Linked DNA regions of Homo sapiens: regions 2, 3, 4 and 5 are each linked to region 1. The links are contacts of gene promoters, found by promoter capture Hi-C in blood cells and fetal thymus (Javierre and others, 2016). All regions are on one chromosome and are shown on one strand. Each heading gives the region's core, a stretch centred on a gene start or on the middle of the fragment in contact. The rest is flanking DNA. Distances are from core to core; before and after follow the strand shown. Region 1 holds the start of LINC02521 (long intergenic non-protein coding RNA 2521). Region 2 overlaps LOC102723944 (a long non-coding RNA gene). Region 3 overlaps LOC102723944 (a long non-coding RNA gene). Region 4 has its middle 29 kb from the start of FOXCUT. Region 5 has its middle 10 kb from the start of FOXC1.

Region 1 (2,560 bases), core at 19-2,518:
AAAGCCGCTTGAAGTACTTACTAAAAATCCATCTTAAGACTCTTTCTGCATTTTGGGAGGCCGAGGCGGGTGGATCACCTGAGGTCAGGAGTTTGAGACCAGCCTGGCCAACATGGTGAAACCCGGTCTCTACTAAAAAATACAAAAAATAGTCGGGCATGGTGGCGGGTGCCTGTAATCCCAGCTCCGTACTCCAGAGGCTGAGGCAGAAGAATCGCTTGAACCCAGGAAGCAGAGGTTGCAGTGAGCCAAGGTCGCGCCATTGCACTCCAGCCTGGGTAACAAGAGTGAAACTCTGTCTCAAAAAAAAAAAAAAAAATCTTCCCCACACATAATGTGGCAGGACAGGAAACACTAGGATTCCTCCAGTTTATGGGGAGATTGGGAGAGCTGAGGCTTCACAATGACACAGCCGGGTATGGAAAACACCAAAAGAAATATGCCTTTTTGGATGACAATACTCCACCCCAATTTCCAAGTATGCTACAACTTTTCCTCAGCCTCGATGGGAGGTATTTACAGTGAGTGGTAGAAGCTTTACTGCAATGCCCTGGTAGACACAGGCTCCACCAGGCTTGGCTTCTACACTCTCACTGGGTCTATGGATGAGCACAGAAGCCAGGTTTCTGGCTCACAGAGAACCTAAGTGCTGAGTTTATATATAAAGTGCACAGTGTGAATAATTAAATATGAAAACGTGTACACACCAAACAGGACATTTTTACTTAATGCCAAAGAAGCACAAACGACCCTTTCTTTTGGGAGTTTCACAAGCATTTCTGCTCAACAGTAATCCCCCAGTGACAGTGATAGTAGTGGTTTCAATATTTTGTTTATAAAAAGCAACATTATAAAATGCCCTGAAAGGTCTTGGCTTCTTTTGTGAGCTCTGAACTATTCAGAAATTCAGCTTGCTATCTGGGGACAACAAATAAATCCCTACTCTAAAAAAATGGGATTCGGGTTTTTCTCCTGTGCTGCTTCCTGGCCTTAACGCTTCCTGGGGACTTACCGTCATTTGCTCAGTTACGGTTTCTATGGGATGAGTGGGGAAGCCGCGTGGTGAGGAAGCCTGGCTCGCACCCGGCCTGCGCTCTCTCGGGCCTGGCCGCATCGGCCACCAGGGGGCAGTGTTGTCATTCGCTGGCGACGCCGCCCCGCCCCGAGCGGATGCCACCCCGTTTCCAGCCTCCGGTGCTCACCGTAAGCTCTGTTATTATTATCTTTTGATTTATAAAGCGCCGTTCCTCAGCAGATTCCCCGCCCCCCAGCTGCTTCCGAGAAAGCTCGCAGAAGCGTTCGTGCGCAGGCGCGGAAGCCCCGCACAGCACGCGGTGGGCCCGGTTCGGGGGGGCGCACGGCCTGGGGCGTCGGGAAGAGGCTGCGGGCAGCGGGGCCTGCGGGCGCGGCGTGGCGGGGCGGGAAAACGGCTCTGTCCCGTGGGGCGCAGGCAGGAACGTGTTCCCATAAAAGACACAGGGAAGACCAACCCTGGGCGTTAGCCATCCAAACCTTCCCTCCCGTGCGAAACCCGCTGCCCTGCGGCCAGGACTGTGAGGGAAGCGATGGGAGGAACCCGGGAGCCCGCGAAGGCCGGGCCCCAGAGTCCGGGCGCCCCTGAGCGGGGCGGAGGGGACAAATAGAACCTTTTTAAGGACAGCTGAAAGAGATTATAAGCGCGGTGTGCTGGGACTTTGGAAAGGGCGCGAGTCATTAGTGGGGGCGAATCAGAGGGGAGTATGTTGACGGGATAATAACAAAAATAAAGAGGCTTGATAAGAAAGACACGGCTTTTGGAGTCAAAGGGAAAATCCGGGACAATGAGGGTTGGCAGGTTCCTGGGACACAAACCAGGAAAAACAGGGCCACACCGGAGCGGCCTGCCTGGCTCCAGCACAGCCGGTGCAGAAGCTAATTTTGTTCCGAGTCCTCCTAGCTCAACAAACATGCCGCCATAGCACCTATTTTCTTTTAGGTAATGCTCACAACAACCTAGCAAAGTGGGGATCATCTTCACCACTGTACAGATGAAGAAATTGAAGGTCAGACATTCAAGGTTATGTGGCCACATGAGAGAAATACCAGAGCTGGGATGAAGACTCAACGGCTCTCAGACACCAGGTTGCTTCTTGAGAGAAGCCGGATGGATGTGCATGCAGGGAGGTGAGCCTCAAAGCAGGTCCAGCTTTCTCCCGTGAGTGTTCCAGTGGCTTAGGGTTAGGGTTAGGGTCCAGAGGAGGAGAGGCGTCCAGAGCTGGGGCCGTCTGCGTTTTGCCTTGCTGTCCCAGAGTGGCAGCGAGGAGTGGCCTGGCCTAGAGGGTCTTTGTCTTATCTTGTGACTTGCTGTTTCTCCTCTGTCTGCAGGAGCTGGGGGAGGTTGGAGAAGCCGCAGCCCAGAAGGGGAGGGAGGACACCATGTCAGAGCTTGCTGGAGCAAGCTTTGGAGGAAGGCCACAGGGGACATTGTCACCAAGGGCCACGGCAGCGTGCACCCTGGGTTAGAGAAAGGGGCAAATTATGGATATGAAAAATGCTTCCCTCAATGAAAAGGACCCTGCTG
Region 2 (2,560 bases), core at 19-2,518, 1.1 Mb after region 1:
TACATTTTGTTACTGACAGGGTTGAATCGGTTTGAACTAGTTCTGTGGTTACAGAATGCCTTTCAATCTGAAAGGGGATGGTGTTAATGATGACCCCGGGACAGCAGGATAAAATGATACTGCCCTGGGCAAGCTAGAAGGGATGGCCACTATGCTCAGCACTAACCAGTTCCTGCAAGGGCCTCAAAGGGTCTCTGCCTTGACCCACTGGCTTCAATACATGAACATCTCTAAGGATCCCTCATTAAGGTCTTTTTCTTACCTATCAGCCTTGTGTTTTTTTATGTGTTTGCTTTGAATCAGGTTGCAATGTTATAGATTTTTAAAAAGAACACACAAAGCCTTCATATTTTTATAAGTATTCCAAGGAAACAACTGCTTTAAGTTCAGTCTTTCTTCCAGTGGTCTTGCTGGGAGAGCTACCCAAGGGTGACGGCAGAAAAGATGAAGGACAAAATCTAAACAGGCAGGTGCTTCCAGGTTCTCATGGACTTTCTGACTCCTGTATGGGCTAGAATCTGTAAACTTGTAAGTCTACGAATGTGTTTCTTTGGATTTACAGCGGAGTATTTTGTGTGTCTTAAAATCCGCGTTCAATAACGTTCCCCACAGCTAAACAGCTAGATACGGAGATCCAGGGGTGAGTGGCCCCTTCGGCTGCCTGCATCACTCATTCCTGCTTCCTGGCGCTGATTTGGCTGATGGAGGGGTGGAGTTACAGTGACACCTGGGGACAGGTGACTGGCTCTGGCCCTCTCCTTCTTGAAACCATAGTTAATTATCACACCCTTGCCTGACCTGTCTTGTCCTCAGTTGTTCCCCCACCGAAATCCCACTGCTGTTGGTTATTGCTTGTGAAGGTGCTTCCTCTTTAGAAGCCACCACTTCCTGCCTCTCTTGACCAGGCAAACCCCACGCATGCTTTCAGGTCATTGCTCCCCATCTTTCATTCTGCACGGTGTGTCCACCCAGGCTCCTGTTGGAAGTGCTGGTGCTTCACGGAGCAGAGAACCTGCTAGCAAATGAAGAATGGGCACCTCACTTTCCCTGGAAAGAATTCTCTCGCAACACTAACTTTCTCGTAATACAGACTCTGTTGTGTGCATGCTGGGGACTGTCGGTTTGCAGTTAGAGCTCAATAAATCCTGTGGCCTTGAGTTGGCCCCTGGGGTATTGCCGTCCACCTCATAAAACTATTACTTAATTAAGTATGGCTGAGTACAATTGGCAGCCTCTGCTTCTGGCCAGAGCACCAGACCTGAGTGTAGATGTGCTCTGGTCTCCTCTGTGCCTCGAGGCTGGTGGGCCCCTCGTGCTGCAGAGGAGACTTCTCTGCAGAGCTGGAGGGCAGTCCTCTGGGATCATGGAAAACACACACGATTGTTACAGGGCTCCCTCCTGTGCCATCAGAACTCAGCGCTCAGAGGTCGCTGAAGGGCTTGCTTTTGGCAAATTGTGTTTCATAGATGTGACATAATTAAAAATAAATAACAAAAAACCATCTTTGATTGGGGAAATGCCAGGTCAATGGTCATTTAGAAACACTATTTAATATGTGCTTCACTTCAGCAGAGCTTTGAGTAAAGGGGGTTCAGACATTTAGACCCGATTTTTCTGCATTAAAAACGACAGCTTCCAACTTTCCTAGTGATAGTAACAGACAATGATAATAAATGTCAATGGTTTCTGATGCCTGCTTTTGCACATCCGTCATAGAAGGATGTTACATTATTAAAATCTGTAACAATGTAGCTCATGAGATAAGTGTGAGGCCATATGACAGTCACCGGGGGGCTTGGGGCCAAGGAGGGGACTGGCGAACGGCTGCTGCCCGGCAAAGCAACTTCCGAGCACCGCTAGGGTCATCTTGGATCACACGACGGGATAACGTCTTTCAGTTAACATAATTGAGCCTTAGTTCCGTTTAAGACTTTATATAGCTTAATGTAAAAAGGGAGAGACTTCTGCCTGGATTATCCATAAGGTCCTTTCCAACTATGACGACCTTTTAGGACACTGTAAATACTTTTTTCTTCCTGGAAGATATAGCATATGCAGTAGGAAGAACATAAGCCAGATATACTCAGGTTTCAATACAGGGTCTGGGACCTGCTGGTCATGTGACTTTAAAATTACATTCCTTCTAAACCTCATTTCTTCCTCTGGAAAATTGTCTGCTATTCCTTATCTTAGGAGGTGATGGTGAGGCATAAATGAACTATCACATAAGGAGCCTTTCCTTAATTCACCCAATACATATGGCACAAAATGTATTCCCTGATGATTTTTTCTTTTTTTAGACGGTCTTGCTCTGTTGCCCAGGCTAGAATGCAGTGGCATGATCCCGGCTCACTGCAACCTCTGCCTTCCGGTTGAAGCGATTCTCCTGCCTCAGCCTCCTGAGTACCTGAGATTACAGGCATACACAACCAGGCCCAGTTAATTTTTGTATTTTTAGTAGAGACGGGGTTTCACCATGTTGGCCAGGCTGGACTCGAACTCCTGACCTCAGGTGATCTGCCCACCTCGGCCTCCCAAAGTGCTGGGATTACAGGCGAGA
Region 3 (2,560 bases), core at 29-2,528, 1.1 Mb after region 1:
CCGTAGACCTAATTATAAAGTCACATCTTATATAAAACACATCCAATATAAAATGTTAAGGGAAACGGGGAGGACAAATATAAATTGACTAGGATAGAGAAAAGAAGGAAAACAATGCTATTACAGTCCTCATTTTTCCAAGGCTTGTGAGTCTGAGGTTGGACTGTTGAGCATCCTTGCTTTATCCTGGCATGTATTTCCTTTCACCATATCCGGCGCCTCTGCTGGTTAGTGCTCTTTATCTAGTGGAGCAATCTAAGTCTTTTTTCCTGAGAGGTCCTATTTCTGTGTGGTCTTTCTTGTATTGAGATGCTGTAGTCTTCCACCAACTCTGTGATTGGACATACAGCCTTGCCTATGATTTTCCTTGAGGGGTTCTGCAGTGGCATATTCTGGCAGTGGTATGTTCAGTCTTACATTTTTAAAATAAGACCTAACATTTTAAAATAAGACACCATCGTATCCTGATTGGCTATGGATGCTTCCAGCACTATTAGATCTGTTACGGATCCAAGTGGTGGTAAAGCTGCTTGCACATGGCCTGAAATTTTTGTTTTTGTTTTTTAAGACAGTCTCTCTCTGTCACCCAGGCTGGAGTGGCACAGTGGTGCAACCATACCTCACTGCAGCCTTCAACTCCTGGGGCTCAAGAAATCCTCTTGCCTCAGCATCCTGAGAAGCTAGGACTATAGGTGTATGCCACCATGCACCCAGCTAATTAAAAAAAATTTTTTTTGAGACAGAGTCATGGTTTTTTTTTGCCCAGGCTTGTCTTGAACTTCTGGGTTCAAGCGATCCTACTGCCTTGGCCCTCACAAAGTGCTGGGATTATAGGCATGAGCTACCATGCCTGGCCTGCCCTGGGATTTTCTCAAAGCTGGCAGACTAATGGGTTATTCAGAATATGGGTCAGAGCTGCACACACACCCACATACACACACACACACACACACACACACACACAGTACATATTGGTTCCCCAATCCAGAGTCGTATCAAGTGCTATAGCTCTTTATTAGCAGTAGGGGGTGCAAGATTCAGAGAGATATCCCATCGCTCACCAGATCACTGGGCACAGCAATTCTGCTGAGAGAGCAGGTTCTTGAATTCTTGTGACACAACATTCCACTCTTTGGCACACATGTAGGCACATAATGTACTTGTTTCCGCTCACTAGGTGCAATAAGAATCGTATTACTAATGTGGTGTCCTCTGGAATGGTCACATGAACACAGTTCCCTGCAGATGTAATTGGGAGAGAAGGCACAGTCCTGACACAGGGTAAGACTGTGGAGGTGTATTGCTGTCCCTACCAGGTAAAATAATATTGCTTCTGGTGGTTTTATTGGGAAAGAGACAACACATTTACCAAACTGATAGCTGCATATTGGGTGCTGGGGGCTGTGTTGATTTGCTACAGTCATAAAACTATGTCTAGAACAAAAGCTGCAATGGAAGCCATCTATTGACTAAATTAACAGTGAACCCTTATTATCCTCCAACAGCCATATGTGTTCTACATAGGTGAAGCAGGGGAGTTAAGTGGCCGTAATAGGAAATGTCATCTCTACATCTTTTTTGTTTGTTTGTTTTGTTTTTTTTTTTAGACAGAGTCTTACTCTGTCGCCCAGGCTGGGGGGCAGTGGCGTGATCTTGGCTCACTACAAGCTCTGCCTCCTGGGTTCATCCCATTCTCCTCCTCAGCCTCCCGAGTAGCTGGAACTACAAGTGCCCGCCACCAAGCCCGGCTAATTTTTTGTATTTTTAGTAGAGACAGGGTTTCACTGTGTTAGCCAGGATGGTCTTGATCTCCTGACCTCATGATCCACCTGCCTCGGCCTCCCAAAGTGCTGGGATTACAGGCATGAGCCACCACGCCCGGCCATCTCTACATCTTTCAAGTCTTTGGCAGTTCATTCAGGGATGTGATGTTGCTTTTGATAACTCTTGATAGGAAGAAGTGGTTCCAGGGTTTTCCACTTGCTCCTTCTTACCTAAATAGTCCTCACTTCCTGGGCCAGGGATGAGTGTGGGGATTCTGTAGCTGGGTGTTTCTGCATACATTCATAGAGTTTCTGCATAGAGAGTGCTCTGCATTCAGAAACCCAGGAAATGCTACAGGATAAGTTTATAGACCTACAAGGTACATCATGAGAAGCACGTGAGCCAAAACTCCACTTATCACTTGACTCCTATAACCCCAACTCTGAAAGCAGAGTTCAAGCAACTGTTGCGTCACCTCTTGCTACAGAGCACCAGGGTCCCACCTTCTGATGTGAATGAGACCTCCTGTGCTTCAAGCCCAGCCAAGTCAGATAACTTAGTGGTCTTCAAATTTTTTTCTGCATACACTCCTGAAGACAATTTAGAAAAAATTTAGAAAAATAATGTACCCTTCACCCACTTTTTTTTTTTCTGAGATGGAGTCTCACTTTGTTGCCAGGATAGAGTGCAGTGGCAGGATCTTGGCTTACTGCAACCTCTGCCTCCTGGGTTCGAGCAATTCCCCTGCCTCAGCCTCCCAAGTAGCTGGGACTACAGGCATGCGCCACCACTCCTG
Region 4 (2,560 bases), core at 46-2,545, 1.1 Mb after region 1:
CTTGCAGTTTCATTTTTGAGGTGTTCAAAAGCAGGATTTTCTACACAAAATAATAAAATGTAAATGTAAAAACAAATCCCGCCACTGGCGTTTGAAGGCAGGTTGTTGCATACCCAAGTGCCAGCTTCCTTTCCAAAAGTGGAACATCACGGAGGAACACGGGGCCCCGGCTGAGGGTGCGCGGTGTTTATTCTCGCCTTTGCCCTCAGGACTCAGTGTTCCTTCTTTCCAGGGACAGCTTGACACAGATGGCATCCAAGGTTCTCTTCGTCCTTCTTGGGACGGTTGTTTCTTACCGTTTAATGATCACAGTGTGGAAATATAACATTGAGCTTTGAGGCCGCTGTTGTTTCCAAATGCTTTGACAGCTACATGCAGTTTAGTGTGCGTGTATTCCGCCCCCTTTCAGTGCCCATTTTCAGATATTCATCCTCATTTGGGACTTTTGATCTGTCCTGGATGCCTTCCAGCCTGGGCCAGGTAGGAGTGTGGCAGGCATGGCAGGGGCAGGCAGGGCTGGCAGGCACAGCTGCCCCGACGGGTGGGGATGACCAGCCGGGGCTCGGCTTTGTCTCCACACCACAAATGTCTTCCAAAGTTGGCCTGCAGCTTGCGGGGCTCCTGAAGCCTGAAATGGACCAGGGGATGCTAATATCTCACCTCTCCCAATTCAGGTCCCCGGCTGCAGGCAGGGGGAGATCTGGGCAGCCAGTGTCCTGGGAGAAGGAGGAGTGTCCCTTGACCCTCTATGGGACATTTGCTAGCAGAAGCTGGAGGGGCCGCAGCCAGAAGGAGTGGCTGAGTGAGGGGGTATTCAGGCCAAAGCAGTGGTGGGAAGTGGTACCTCTGAGGGGGCGTGTGGAGGCTGTCTAGGCTGGGGGCCCCCTGGCCGGGCCCTTTCCATTTGCTCTCTGTCTATGTATTTGTTACACATAACAGAATCATTTGATGGCATTTTCTGATAGGGCCCTGAAGTCTATTGAAAATGGTCCATCTCAGTTGCTTGGCTCCAAGGGTGTCGAGTATGTTCCATTCACTCCAGAACAGGGTTCTGAAGCTCAGACACTCCCAGCAGCCTGGCGTGGCGGCTGTGCTGAGTGGGAGTGGGACAACCGACCTAGGGGGCAGGTGCTGTCAGCCCCACAGATGATGCCACACGGGACGGTGGGCCTCACGAAGCCTCATTTTCCAATCCACGGAGAGGAGCAGGAAACCGGGACTTTCAATGGTGGCGACTAATTCACCTTTTTCAAAGAACCAACAAAATTCCCTGAAGGCCAAACACGACCATTTTGGGTCTGTTTGCTTTCCCATGGTCACTAGTATTTTCTAGACTTCCTCCGTGAAGTCAAGAAGAGACACTAGGTGGTCTTTCCTAAAGAGCTTTGTCTTAACTTCCTGGGAGTTAACGTACCCATTAAGTTAGGTTATCCACTGAGCAATGCTGGAGTGTGGGCCCTGGCTGTGTCTTTTTCCAACTCCTCCTCTTTCATTATTGCCAGGACTAGTTGTTCTGCATGTTATTTCATAAACTGACCTCTAAGAAATACGTAGTAAAATAGCATGATAGAATTTGAGAGCCGAAGTCCATCAAGCTGGGTTGTGAGAACAAGTGAGAAAGTCCTGTAGGCACCATTAGGTCAATTGCAAATGTAAGTGCATTCCCGGTCTCAGGGATGTTTATGGGATCTCTGCAGAGGTCTCTGTCCTATGCAAACATTCTGCGCCCCCCGACCCCGCCAGCTGTGCCTCGGGTGCTTCTGGGCTTGTGAACTGACCTCAAAGACAGTGTCTCAGACCCTTTTCGAGGCTAGGTGTTCTAAACCCCCGGCCATGACCCTGCAGCACAATGGGTCATAACTAAAAATTAAAAATGAAGTTTTAATTTCCTTTCCCACTGGGGCCAGAAGTTCAGAGAAAACAAGGCTAGCAGGGGGTTTACTGGCAGCCTCCTTTTCCCAGACCTTGCCGCCAGGAGTGTCTGTCACAAAGCCTGTTGAAATGTGCACTTTAATCATCAAAACTGCATTTTCGGATTGTGGGGAGCCACAGTGCTGCTTTCCCATCAGAACAAGGCCAGCCTTTCATTCCCCACTGAGTGCCGTCTTTCCTGCTTTGGCTGAGGTCTGGGTGTGAAGAAACGTTTCAAAATAGGGCTTCCGGGTCCGCCGGTTTTGGAGAGAGAACTTCTGGTGTTACTGGAATCCTTTTCTTTGTGAACAGGAGCAAATGCAGTCTGAAGCCCTGAGACCACAGCCTCTGTGGCCCGTGGGGGAGTCAGTGTTACGCCTGGGCTGAGGCTGGAGTGGGGCTGGCTTCTGGCGTGGGGAGGCTGTGGGGCAGTGGGGGTTTTGGCTGTCTTCCTGGAAGAGTGGGATGATTGCCCAAATCTCCCTGCTTCCCAGGTGGACATGACTCTCCTATGAGAACGCCACTCAGGACGCTCCTTCCCCTCTTTCACTTTGCTGCTTACAGCTTGAAGCTGTGGGGGAACTGTCAGCTGCTTACTATAACCTCAGCTGCTTTTTCTAAAAACCAGACTTGCGCTTTTAAACCGCTC
Region 5 (2,560 bases), core at 16-2,515, 1.0 Mb after region 1:
ACTTGAAAATAACCTTAAATGTATTGTTTACAAGTAACTTTTTAACACCCCTCCCCCCAAGTCTCAAAGCACCCTACGCACTTTATTTGGATTTGGGAGTGCCTACTGGGTGAATTCTGTTTTAAGGTGCAGCCCACACACGTCCAGGTGTTTTCTACAACCTGCATCCTTGATTGGTACGCGGGTGGCATGGAGGGGTGGTGGCAGCGCCCATCTAGGTTTTACAAAATGAGTGTCCCTGTGTGTGCGTGGACGTGCCTCACAAAGAGACCTTCACGTCCGTACATGCCACCCGCACCCTCCAAAAATTGTGGATTGCCATCACGGGGGTCGCTAATACTTTTAACAAGCAGCAGGGGCAATGGGGGACAAAACGGCGCTAGGAACTGGTCCACCGTCCACAGTGTGTCCCCTGAGAACACCCGGGGTCTGGGCCTGATCTCCAGGAGTTGGAGGAGGCGCCCCCGCCCCGTGCCAAGCGGGCCCAAGGCCCGAGGCTCCCCCGCTCACAACCCCGGTGCCCGGAACACGTCTTCGAGGGGCCGTGCTGTCGGGGTTATTACTCGCGACTGGACCTCGCGCCGTGTTGCTCTCCTCGGGCCCCGAGCCCGCCCAGCGGTCTGCACGGCCCAGGCCTGAGCTGCGGGCTTCTCCTGTGGGGCGCGCTGGGAGTGAGCTCTATCCCCAAAGCCCATTTCAACGTCCCAGGTATGACTACGACGGCAGAGGCCGGCCGCCCACCCTCGCCCCCTTCCCCGGCCAGAGCGCCTTTGCCGGGAGCCGACGACCGCGGCCTGACCCCGGGCCCCACCGCCTACTCCCGGCTCCCGCCCTTCCTCCACGGTCAGGGGTCACACACAGCGGACGCCCCGTTCTCAGCCGCCCCTCTGATCTCTGAATTTGGGAGCCAGCGTGTCCGCTGGGGCATGCACTGCCACGGGCACTGGGACCCCTTTGCTGCTGCGGGGAGGAGCCCCGACGGCAGGTGGGAAGACCTAGCCTGCCCGCGTCCCCGCTCCCCAGCTCCTGCGACCCGGGCCGAGGCTCTCAGCCCCTGGGCTTCCCCGCTCCGGGTTTGAGGGAGGGGCCGGGCCTTCGGGCCTGCAGACCCGCCACCGCGCGTGCGCATGCGTCGGCCGCGAGCCCCCGGGTGCAGGCCTGGGCGGCTCCGGCCCGCGCACTTGTCCAGGCGCTGCGGCTCAGCGCGCCCCAACCTCCAGCTCGGGCGGAGAGCGGGGGCGGGACTGAAGCACCGTGTTCCTCAAAGTATCCTCTCGCCGTCGGCAGCCCTGGCCTCGCAAATGCTCCAGCGCGCTCAGGCGCACGCAGAGACTGGCGCGGCAGCCTCCGGGCCAACGGCACGCGAGCAAAGCTGGTTGGCGACCTGGGACACGCAGTAGAAGTTGAGGCTGCACCGACTCCCGCCGCTTCGGGGGAGGCATGGGCCCGGGCAGGCCTAGGAGGAAGCTGCACAGCCCGAGGCCCGGGCGGGAGTGGCGGGCCGCGGGCAAGGGAACGTATATTTGGAAGGGGTCAGGACCTCGGCTGGAGTCTGGCTTTTTATGGCGAGGAAGCCGACTGGGAAGGGCCCTCTGGCGAGGCTTTCCTGTTGTGCCACTTTTCCCCGGCAGCGCCGGGCGCGGGGAACGCGGGGCTGCACCGGGGCGGGGGAGGGGGCTTTACCCGGCGGCTCCGAGGACTCGACTCTGGGGTCGGGCCCGGCGGGTAGGCCTGCCCAGGAGCCAGCTGGCAAATGCAGCGGACTGTCACGTTATTCCACTGTCACCACTTACTGTAAATCACTGTCCTAAGCCTCCGGGAGAATCCGTCGAACCTGAGAGGGGGGAGGGGGATGGGGGTGGGCGCGCAGGAAGCCCCACAGGCACCAGGGACTGGTGACCCAGGACATCAGCCCCTCGAGTTCTCTCTGGGAATTTCTAGCACCCAGACTGTCCCTGACTGTAGGGACCACGGTGGGGCGTCTTCCTTCTAAGCTCTCCCCGGGACACCGGGCGCGCCCCCCTCGCCCCTGGGTTAGCGCACACTCCTCCACGCGATGACCAGCACAGCCACTGTGAGGCCCGGCCTTGGCCGCGTTTGTCCTTTGCGAGTGATAATAATAAAAATCATTGGAATTGCAAGGAAGCCCCTGGCCCCGGCTCCCCAGCCGCTGCTGTCCTGGGTGTCCCGGCTGCGGAAAGACCCCGCAGCCGGGCCCGACCCACGAGTGGAACACCGGGCTGCGGACCCAGCCGGGCCTACAGGACTGGCGCGGGGCTCCGGGGACAGGCCTCGCAGGGCCCTCCTGCGCACCGTCTGGGACGCCGATTTTGCCAACTTGGAGGACAATTTTTGTTTTCACTCTACCAGCAGATTTTTAAAAATCCAGTCGCCGCTGAAACGTGCTTCCCACCCGTCCGGTTTGTTTGTAGCCTTTGACGAGCCCCGGCACAGCCTCCGGGACCAATGACCTGCTTTTATACCGAAGGAAATGTGGAGGCCTTAAGAGTTAATGGCGCTAAATGTGTTGGTTTTCCTGCTTTTTCCCCGGGGTAGGTAA

Evidence for each region. Contacts are between HindIII fragments. The CHiCAGO score rates a contact against its expected background, and 5 or more counts as called.
Region 2: a fragment that was not itself captured here is called in contact with the fragment with the promoter of LINC02521 in region 1 in 4 of 17 cell types (naive CD4 T cells, activated CD4 T cells, total CD4 T cells and 1 more); the score reaches 8.7 in naive CD4 T cells.
Region 3: a fragment that was not itself captured here is called in contact with the fragment with the promoter of LINC02521 in region 1 in 7 of 17 cell types (non-activated CD4 T cells, total CD4 T cells, activated CD4 T cells and 4 more); the score reaches 10.5 in non-activated CD4 T cells.
Region 4: a contact is called between a fragment that was not itself captured here and the fragment with the promoter of LINC02521 in region 1, in 10 of 17 cell types (naive CD4 T cells, total B cells, total CD8 T cells and 7 more). The highest score is 11.9, in naive CD4 T cells.
Region 5: a fragment that was not itself captured here is called in contact with the fragment with the promoter of LINC02521 in region 1 in 15 of 17 cell types (activated CD4 T cells, naive B cells, naive CD4 T cells and 12 more); the score reaches 18.0 in activated CD4 T cells.

Annotation. Positions count from the first base shown.
Region 1 is chr6:2,633,208-2,635,767 of GRCh38, reverse strand. It overlaps LINC02521 (long intergenic non-protein coding RNA 2521), which reads right to left and starts at 1,268. Exons shown (of 3, transcript NR_149119.1): 1 at 1,013-1,268. LINC01600 (long intergenic non-protein coding RNA 1600) reads left to right here and starts at 1,165. Exons shown (of 3, transcript NR_131168.1): 1 at 1,165-1,203; 2 at 1,976-2,163. The HindIII fragment of the contact is 1,903 bases long and covers 538-2,440 here.
Region 2 is chr6:1,515,637-1,518,196 of GRCh38, reverse strand. All of the region lies in intron 2 of LOC102723944 (a long non-coding RNA gene), which reads left to right. Among named protein-coding and RNA genes, the nearest start is that of FOXCUT, 89 kb to the left of the region's middle. The HindIII fragment of the contact is 4,402 bases long and covers 1-2,560 here.
Region 3 is chr6:1,551,102-1,553,661 of GRCh38, reverse strand. It overlaps LOC102723944 (a long non-coding RNA gene), which reads left to right. Exons shown (of 7, transcript XR_427861.4): 2 at 1,178-1,316. Among named protein-coding and RNA genes, the nearest start is that of FOXCUT, 53 kb to the left of the region's middle. The HindIII fragment of the contact is 8,686 bases long and covers 1-2,560 here.
Region 4 is chr6:1,575,479-1,578,038 of GRCh38, reverse strand. No RefSeq gene overlaps it. Among named protein-coding and RNA genes, the nearest start is that of FOXCUT, 29 kb to the left of the region's middle. RefSeq lists an enhancer at 847-1,620. The HindIII fragment of the contact is 9,409 bases long and covers 1-2,560 here.
Region 5 is chr6:1,618,759-1,621,318 of GRCh38, reverse strand. No RefSeq gene overlaps it. Among named protein-coding and RNA genes, the nearest start is that of FOXC1, 10 kb to the right of the region's middle. RefSeq lists an enhancer at 1,848-2,560. The HindIII fragment of the contact is 5,353 bases long and covers 1-2,560 here.